Regions from separate parts of the Homo sapiens genome. Here region 2 is linked to region 1. Evidence: promoter capture Hi-C in human tissues and cell types (Jung and others, 2019). All regions are on one chromosome and are shown on one strand. The core of a region is centred on a gene start or on the middle of the fragment in contact, and the rest is flanking DNA. Distances in the headings are between cores, read along the strand shown.

The links. The method cuts DNA at HindIII sites, captures the fragments that hold promoters and counts their contacts. A contact is called where the count stands out against the background at its distance.
Region 2: a fragment that was not itself captured here is called in contact with the fragment with the promoter of PCBP3 in region 1 in 3 of the 25 tissues and cell types used here (H1 embryonic stem cells, IMR-90 fibroblasts and dorsolateral prefrontal cortex).

The regions. Positions count from the first base shown.
Region 1 is chr21:45,641,031-45,645,516 of GRCh38, forward strand. It overlaps PCBP3 (poly(rC) binding protein 3), which reads left to right and starts at 2,695. Exons shown (of 18, transcript NM_001384156.1): 1 at 2,695-2,838. RefSeq lists silencers at 1,900-2,889, 3,210-3,349. The HindIII fragment of the contact is 13,348 bases long and covers 1-4,486 here.
Region 2 is chr21:45,228,144-45,232,644 of GRCh38, forward strand. No RefSeq gene overlaps it. Among named protein-coding and RNA genes, the nearest start is that of LINC00334, 3.9 kb to the right of the region's middle. The HindIII fragment of the contact is 4,173 bases long and covers 807-4,501 here.

The sequences.
Region 1 (4,486 bases), core at 1,445-3,944:
TCCAAACCCACAGCAAGACACCCTGGAGTTATTTATAAATGCGAGCCCCTGGGTGCACTTCTGACGGGACCAGCACCCTGACGGCCATGAGAGGGTGGAGACAGCGCACCCCGAGCTCAGGGAGGCAGGAAACTCTGGACCTGGAGGCCGGGCACCATGAGGGACACGCTGCAGGCCCAGCTGCTGCCGCCTGGGGCGGGGCTGCCCTGCAGGCTCCGGGAAAACCCAGAACCAGGCCGGATCAGCGTGTGTCAAGAGGCGGGGCGTGAGAGATGAGCTGCTTTTTTTCTTCACAGGGTTGGCAGGAACTGCAAATAATAGAAAGTCTTTAGGGTCTAACACGCTGCCCTGAAAACACTATCATTACTTTCCTAATGACTAACTGTGTCTTTCAGCCGGCGGGGCAGGCAGCTGAGGCCGCAGGCTCCCGCAGAGGACCGGGGGAGGCTGGCAGCCTGTAATCTGGGGGCGCTGACAGTGCTCTGCCCAGACCCTCGCGCCAGCTCCAGCTCCAGCACAGCAGCCCTGGGTCCCTCTGGCCCCCTGCCCGCAGAGTCCAGGTGTGGCAGAGGCCGCCCAGTATCCCTTCTCCTCCTCCTTTTCTAAAAACAGAGTCTCACGATGTTTCCCATGCGGGTCTCCAACGCCTGGGCTCAAGCGATCCTTCTGCCTCGGCCTCCCAAAGCGTTGGGATTAAGGGGCGAGCCACCGCGCCCGGCCCACCTTCCCTTCTGGTTCATTTCCAGTAAGGTCCTGTCCACAGCGTCCTTCCCAGCATTCCCACCAGGCTGCAGGCCTTGGCCTCCCTCCCCTCCATTCTCATTCTCCCCGAAACCGCCAAGCGCGTCCAAAGCACGGGTTCGCCAAGCGCCCCCCCCGCCCCACTCCACATTCCCTTCCCCGCCGACTCAGCCTCCGTAGCTCGCGGACGGCCCCTCCTCACGCCAGCCCAGGCTTTTTTTTTTTTTTTTTCTTCTATTTTAAGGTTGTCTTTTAATGACACAAGCGACATTTGGAGACAAAAGGACACATCTCTTCCTGACCCACCTCCAACCCCAGCTGACGGCCGCCCTGAGCCTGGCGTAGACGGCCCGGAACGTTCCCTGCGTGGGTTCCGTCCATCCCGAACCCCTGTCCCCGCGCCGGCTCCGGGGGTGCTCGGGGGGCCGCGTGGGGTCTGTGACGTCGCCTCGAGGCTGCATCCCGGTGACCCGGCAGCCCCTGGCGCTCGCGGGAGGCGGGCGGGCGCGGACCCCAGGCTTTAGGGCGCGATTCCTGCAGCTGGCTGCCGGCCCGAGGTTCTGGGGTGTCTGAGGTCTCGGGCGGGGCGAGGACGTTTCTCCGGCTCAGCCCCCCCACCTCCTGCCCTGCCGCCCCCCACACCCAGCTCCCCACGGACGCCAAGAGGCGCCTCCCACCCCGGCGAGGACCCGCGGGGAAACGGGGCCCAGGCGCGGCGACTGCGGAGGACGCGCCTCGGCCCCAGCGCCCTGGTCCTCGGGGCGTCCGGCTGCCCTTGCCCGAGGCCGGGGCGGGCGCTCAGCGCCGCGGAAGAAACGCCCGGGCGGGGACGCACAGCGAGGCGGGCTCCGCGGGAAGTACCGGGAAAACGGCGCGGAGCGGAACAGCCCGGAGCCAGCCCAGAGAAAGGGCGGCCTCCCCCTGCAGCCCCCGGGGCCCAGCAACGCCCCGCCCCAGGCCACGGCACGCGAACGCCGGGCGGGCGGAGGGGACAGGGCGGCGGGACCAGCGCGGGGCGGGCAGCGTCTGGGCACAGGCTCACGAGCCGCTCGGGGCCCCTGCCCGCCGGGCGCTGCGGCCCCAGCCTCCGGGCCGGGGCCAGGCCCACAGAGAACGGGAAGCGGGCGCTGCAGGGGGACCTTCGGGGTTGCGGCACGGCTGGGAATTCAACGGCCATTCCCGTCCCGTCGGGCCCACCCGCCCGCCCGCCAAATCCCCGCCCACCGCGGATCCGCCCCGTCCACCAAGGTCTCGCTCACCAACGGCCCGCCCCGCCCACCACAGGCCTGGCCCGCCCACGAAGGCTCGCCCCGCCCATCCACGGCCCTGCCCACCACAGGCCCGCCCCAAGCCTGGGCCCCGCCCCAGCAAGGGCACTAATCCCCTAACCCCCGAGCCCCGCCCACTGCTCTTGCCCTTCTCCCGCCCGCCCCGACTTAGGCCTCTCCCCGGCCTGGCCTCCCGTACTCAGCCCCGCCCCTGCCCCGCCCCCACCCCACCCCAAATGTGACCTGCCCCTCCCACTGCCCGTCCCCTCCCCGCTTCACTTCATTAGGCCCCCGCCCCGATTCTTGCCCCGCCCGCTCAATGTCCCGCCTACGACCCCGCCCACTACTAGTGACCGGCCCGCCCGTTCGAGGCCCCGCCTCCTCCCCGCCCAATGCTCGGCCCCGCCCCGCGCGTCATTGGGCCAGGTCCCCGCCCCGCCCCCAGCCCCACCCCCGCCCCTTTGACTGGAGTTGGCTTTTTCCAGAGAACTTTCCGGGCTCGGATTGGCCGCGCCGGTTGATGTTCCGCCCTTTCATTGGCCCGCGGCGCCCGCTTTCGCGAGCCTGCCCTTGGGCGGGGGCGGGGCCGGCGGCGGCGCGCGGCGCTAGATTGGTTAGCGGCGCAGAGGGGCGGGCCCGCGCCGCGCGCAGCGCTCGGGCTGGAGCGCCTGAAGCCGCGACCGCCGCCTCAGCCGCCTCAGCCGCGGTCGCCGCCGCTTCGGCTGACTTAGGCTCCGCCGCCGCCTCCTCACCCGCCTCGCCCCGACCCCGCCCGGGCCTCCCGGCCTCTCCCCGCCGGCCCGCGGGCTCGCCGTCCGGCGCAGGGCAGGTGAGTGAGCGGTGGCGGGCGGGGTCGGGGTCGGGCGCCCTTGCGGGTTACGGGGACCCAGTCCCCGACGGAGGCCGAGTGACGGGGCGACCCCGGGCCGCGGCAAACTTCGCCCGAGCCGGGGCGGGCGGGGGTCCCGGGCTGGGTCGCGCCGTCCCCGACCGCCGCCGGCGCCTGCGGCGGCCCGGGGCAGCGAGGGGACTCGCGCTCCCTCAAGGTGCGGTCGCCAGGCCTGGCCCGCCCGCCTCCGCCCCCTCCCCAAATTCGGAAGTTGCGGCGGGAAGCCGAGAACGTCTCGGATGTGGGTCAGAAAACGTCTGGACTACTTGAGGCTTCAGTTTCAAAACGGCACAAATTTCATCTCTTGATTGAGAAGAGATCTGGGGAACACCCCGGAGCGGCCGCGGCGGCTGGAGGGCGGCGGGGCGGGGCGCGGGGCCTCCTCCCCCTGGACGGCCGCCGGGAGAGCGCGGCCTCACCCCTCGGTGACCCTGCGGAGAGCCGCGCGCGGGCGGTGGGGCGCGCGCAGGTCTCTCTTGTTGCTCGCTGTGTTTTATTTTAATTTTGGGGGTGGTTAGAACGTGTTTCTTATTGTCCCCACACGTGTTCTAATTGGAAGTCTTGTTTCGTGAAAGAGTTTTTTTCTTTTTTTTGCCTGGTGATGTTTTCCAATTCCCTCCGCGCCACTCTGAAGTATATTACTGGCATAAGAAATTTGAAAGTTAACCAAAAGTCGGGTCCTAAATCTCGTGGCTCGGGGTTGGTTATCTTCCACCGTCCTTCAGAGCAGCCTGGATTTGCAGGTCTTGTTAGCCCTCCATGTGAGCCAGTAGCACTCTTAGTTGTTGAGTGTTTGTAGAGTGGGATTCGCCAGAAGGAATCTTGAGCAGCAGGGCCTTGCGGAGAGGCCTTTAGAGATTAGACTGGGCAACTTATAGACTCCCCCCATTTCAAAAATATTCCTCTGGCACAGGCCCTCACATATCCCTCTGAAATTGAACTCACTTTCAGGGGCAAACTGTTGCCCTTTTTCTTTTCTTTGGACTTTCTCAGATGTGGATCCCAAAGGAGTGTGCAAGGGTGCTTCCCTATTTAAGAGAACTAACTCCCAGTCCTCCTCATATTCAAGAATAATTCATCATCTTAAAGCGTGTCAGAGATACCTATTTTGGCCCCAAAAGGAGTGTTTGTAGAACAGTGGCACTCTAAAGGGATCATTTGCAAGATCTGAAAGGACCTAATTGATCATCACACGACAGAAGCAGAAATAGTTCTGGTGTTTTCAGGCTTGGAGATCTGTCAGAAAACATGGGGCCTTAAAACTAACAAGTGCAGTGACCGACTAACTGATGTCTCACTTTCGAGCAGTATTTTTTTTTTTTGCTTGTATGTAGATGCTGTTGTTTATACAGTGCAAGTTCATTACGAATGGTTTAGAACTTACGTAGCTTCACGTATTTTCTTAGTTGATAATATTATAAGGTTTTGAAAAAGTTTTGATGATAAATGGGGTCTTTATAACTGAAAAAAATGGACTCTGTCTAGAATTCAGGGCTTTTTGGCTGGCGTTGCCCCAGGTGCTGCTGATTAGTGGTGCTTTTGGACCTCAAAACATCACTTTCCCAGATATCTTTATAATGCTCATGGT
Region 2 (4,501 bases), core at 1,643-4,142, 410 kb before region 1:
GCTGCATTTTACTGCAATCTGTGTTCTTACTGTGTGCATACTCTGCAATGGTGGGCACGCCCCTCCTAGGCTGCGTTTGGGAACTCACATCAGTAGCTTGGAATCAGTTGTGGTGGGAGGTTTCACACCACTGGTACCCACAGACACGGTGACTCAAGGCTTGACTCACTGTTGTGATTGTCTCTAGACCTAGCAAGGGATGGAGGAAGATGCAGATCAAACTGCAAATGTAGCTGTTACATTGTGAATGGCACAGAAAATTGAAGAAACTGTCTCACAGCCTCTGGAAACTGTTATCTACTTAAGCAAAGAAGTCACTCAGTCACTGAACAAGTGAAGCTCTGGCATTCGTCCTGCTGCTTCGCCTTCATCTGACTCATCGGTGAAAACATCCCCAGCATTCTTGTCAGAACCACACTCATTCATCAGCTGCAACCCTGTGTTGGCTTCAGATGTAGGGCTCAGCAAGACTCAATGAAAGCATTCCATAAAAACTGGCTCTGTGGGATTTACAACAGTACTGTCTATTTTATTCATGTTTTTAAGTTGCATGCTGCTCCTTTTATATCTGTAACATGTACAGTACGCTTATGTACACATATGTGTGCCCACACTGGAGCAGGGTAGCCTGTTTAGCATTTACTAGCACACCACTGGGTCCCAGATGTCCTTGGGAACAGATCAAGGCAGTGCAAAGGCCCTGTGCTGGTGAGGGGCTGAAAGTTGGTGGGAACTAATCAGCCTCTGGCAGGTGCCTCCCCCATCCCACCCTCCAGGACTGGTGAGATTGGTCTGTGTGGTACAGCTGCAGGAGAAAAAAGTGTGAGGCCAGACCTGAGGGATGAGGAGTGAGTGTGGGTTTCTGCTGGCCCACCTCCCGCTATGCCCTCAGGCACTGAGGTCCCACCTTCTGCCTTCTGGCCAAGCAGCCAATGCCTCCAGGGGAAAATGACCTCATAAGGAGAAATGAGAAATCTGCAGAGCACAACTATCTAAAGCTCAAAATGGTAATACTGAATAGAGATCCTATTAGAATAGATTCTAGCGTTTTAGAACACAGTCCAGGAAGAGATCAGAAAACAGAACCAAGCAGAATTTGAAAAAGTGAACACAACAGATGAACTACATAGTGGAATGAACTTACCATTGGAAGACCACATGGAAAAGGAGAGGGTAACAAAAAAGAAAATATAGAAATACTAAAATATTTGGCTGATAGAAGTGCTAACATCTGGCTAATATAATGTTCATGGACTTTGCCACACCCACAGACTGAAGGCATCACAGATGAAAGGATGTGTCTGAGACGGGCTTAAAACAGCAACAGCAGTTAGTTCCCACCAACTTTCAGCCCCTCACCAGCACAGGGCCTTTGCACTGCCTTGATCTGTTCCCAAGGACATCTGGGACCCAGTGGTGTGCTAGGGCATGGTGGCTCACGCCTGTAATCCCAGCACTTTGGGAGGCTGAGGTGGGCAGATCATGAGGTCAGGCATTTGAAACCAGCCTGGCCAGTATGGTGAAACTCTGTCTCTACTAAAAATACAAAAATTAGCCGGGCGTGGTGGCATGCACCTGTAGTCCCAGCTACTCGGGAGGCTGAGGCAAAAGAATCGCTTGAACCCAGAAGGCAGAGGTTGCAGTGAGCCAAGACCACACCACTGTAGTCCAGCCTGGGCGACTGAGCGAGCCTCCATCTCAAAAAACACACACACACACACACACACAAAAATACTGGGACAGCTGAGCGTGGTGGCTCATGTCTGTAATCCCAGCACTTTGGGAGGCCAAGGCGGGTGGATCACAAGGTCAGGAGATTGAGACCATCCTGGCTAACACGGTGAAACCCTGTCTCTACTAAAAATACAAAAAATTAGCCGGGCGTGGTGGCGGGCGCCTGTAGTCCCAGCTACTCGGGAGGCTGAGGCAGGAGAATGGCGTGAACCCCGGAGGCAGAGCCTGCAGTGAGCCGAGATCGCGCCACTGCACTCCAGCCTGGGTGACAGAGCAAGACTCAGTCTCAAAAAAATAAAATAAAAAATATAACAGGGACAGGCAGCTCCACTAATGGAGAAGACAAGAAGATTCGGATGAAACGATACCGGCCAAGTGTTGGTAATTGTATGTTTGCAAATGTTCATAAGAAGATTTAAAAAGTGCTAGCATAGACTTTTTAAAATGCCATTTATTTGGTACTCTAAGGACTCGTGGGATTTTTTTTCACACAAAAGCAACAACTTTTAGTGCTGTAAAATGTAAATTGTCCAAATTAAAGAAAATAAGAAAAATATCAGGAAGCTTTTAAAATTGCAATCATTTACTTCCTTAGAGAGTCATTTTAAATGTATTTTTGTGGAAACAAGTACTTTATACATCAGCTGAATCTTATGTTGTTCTCCCTGGTCGATTTTCTTTCCTAGCACTGATTAATGACATTTGCATTTGTTTATCTGTCCCACTATGAAATGCAGACATCAGGGGGTGAGAGGCATTGGTTTGTTCATGGCTATTCACTTGGCACAAGCCTGCTATGTTGCAGATATTAAATAAATATATTCTGTATTAATTTTAAAAGTTCCCAGACATACCATGCGTCAGAGCTTTGCCACCTGGGAAGCAGGTTTGCATGAGATGCTTAAATTGAGAAACAAAATTTAGGAAATCTTACAAGAGGTTTACAGTGTAAAAATCAGTACTTTGCTAAGTTTGTGGTGGTTTTTTTTTTTTTTTTTCTTTTGAGACGGAGTCTTGCTATCGCCCAGGCTGGAGTGCAGTGGCGCGATCTCGGCTCACTGCAACCTCCGCCTCCCGGGTTCACGCCATTCTCCTGCCTCAGCCTCCCTAGTAGCTGGGACTACAGGCGCCCGCCACCAGGCCCGGCTAATTTTTTGTATTTTTAGTAGAGACGGGGTTTCACCGTGTTAGCCAGGATGGTCTCGATCTCCTGACCTCGTGATCCGCCCGCCTCAGCCTCCCAAAGTGCTGGGATTACAGGCGTGAGCCACCGCGCCCTGCCTGCGGTGGTTCTTAAAAAGCTAAAGTCAGGCCAGACACGGTGGCTCACGCCTGTCATCCCAGCACTTTGGGAGGCCGAGGTGGGTGGATTGCCTGAGCTCAGGAGTTTGAGACCAGCCTGGCCAACATGGCGAAACCCTGTCTCTACTAAAAATACAAAACATTAGCCGGGCATGGTGGCATGCACCTGTAATCCCAGCTACTCGGGAGGTTGAGGCACGAGAATCGCTTGAACCTGGGAGGCGGAGGTTGCACTGTGAGCCGAGATTGCGCCACTGCACTCCAGCCTGGGGGACAGAGTGAGACTCCGTCTCAAAAAAAAAAAAAAAAAAAAAAAAAGTGAAAGAAAACAACACACATCTTTAATAACCCAGAATTTAGTCTGGGTAATATCAACGTGATAAGGCCAGGGCGACATGGAGACCCAAGTATATGAGAGTACGTCTCAGTCTCTGTCCCACTGGGGCACAGATGGGAATCTCCATTATTTTTCTAATGAACAAAGGTCAAAGATTTTATGTTAATCATTATAAAATCTGTTAATAAGGGAAGTGGTAAGATGTTAAAATTGACTCCGTTGACAAATTGACTAACTCTAATAGATTAAATGAATTAGGGCTTTTATCTGCTTGTCCCAGGCAGAAAACAGTAGGGCCAAAACAGAAGTCAATAACCGGTGGATAATTTTGTCTGACCTCATGAATATTGAATGCTTCATGAATACTGAATGCCTCATGAATATTGAATGTCTTATGAATACTGAATGCCTTATGAATACTGAATACCTCTCTGATGCTCCCATTTTCTCTCCACAGTCTACTGGCTCATGTGTCTCACAGGCTACTGGCCTGTCTGCTCATTTCTCTTATTTTCTATGGATGAGTTGAATACTCTTAGATACTCATAAACAATACTGCAGACACACCTTACACTTTGTCAGCTACGGGATTTGTTAGTTTTCCACATTATGTTGATTCTTTCCTTCTAGGACTTAGAGTGAAGACACATTGGACCTTTCATGCTATCTACCACTTGGGTCAGTTATGAAGCTTTATCTCTCAGTTCCAAATTCAATATTTACGTTCCGCTTTATAATATTGAGGCTGGGACCCTGCAAATATGATGTTCCCATTCTCTGCTGGCTTTATATTCTGCCAAAGGTAGTACAAGAGGGACCATGGCAGACAGGATGAGGGAGAAGGTGATTTCCTGCCATTTGCTTGCTGTTGCTGCTCAGCCGCAGTGCTTCTGCAACTGCAAAGCTGCTATTGGTTCTCATCAGCAGGTTGCTTTGGAGTCTCACTGCCCGCCTTCACAGGTGCCAGTAGCAGGACAGCAGCACTCCACCTCAGAGGCTGAGGTCCAGCTCTGCACAGCCCCTCCTGAACTTCTGTAATACGTAGCAAAATTAATGGGGGAGGGTTTATAAATGACTTTTATACTTGATTTTTTTAATAAGAGATGGGGTCTCTGTCACCCAGGCTGG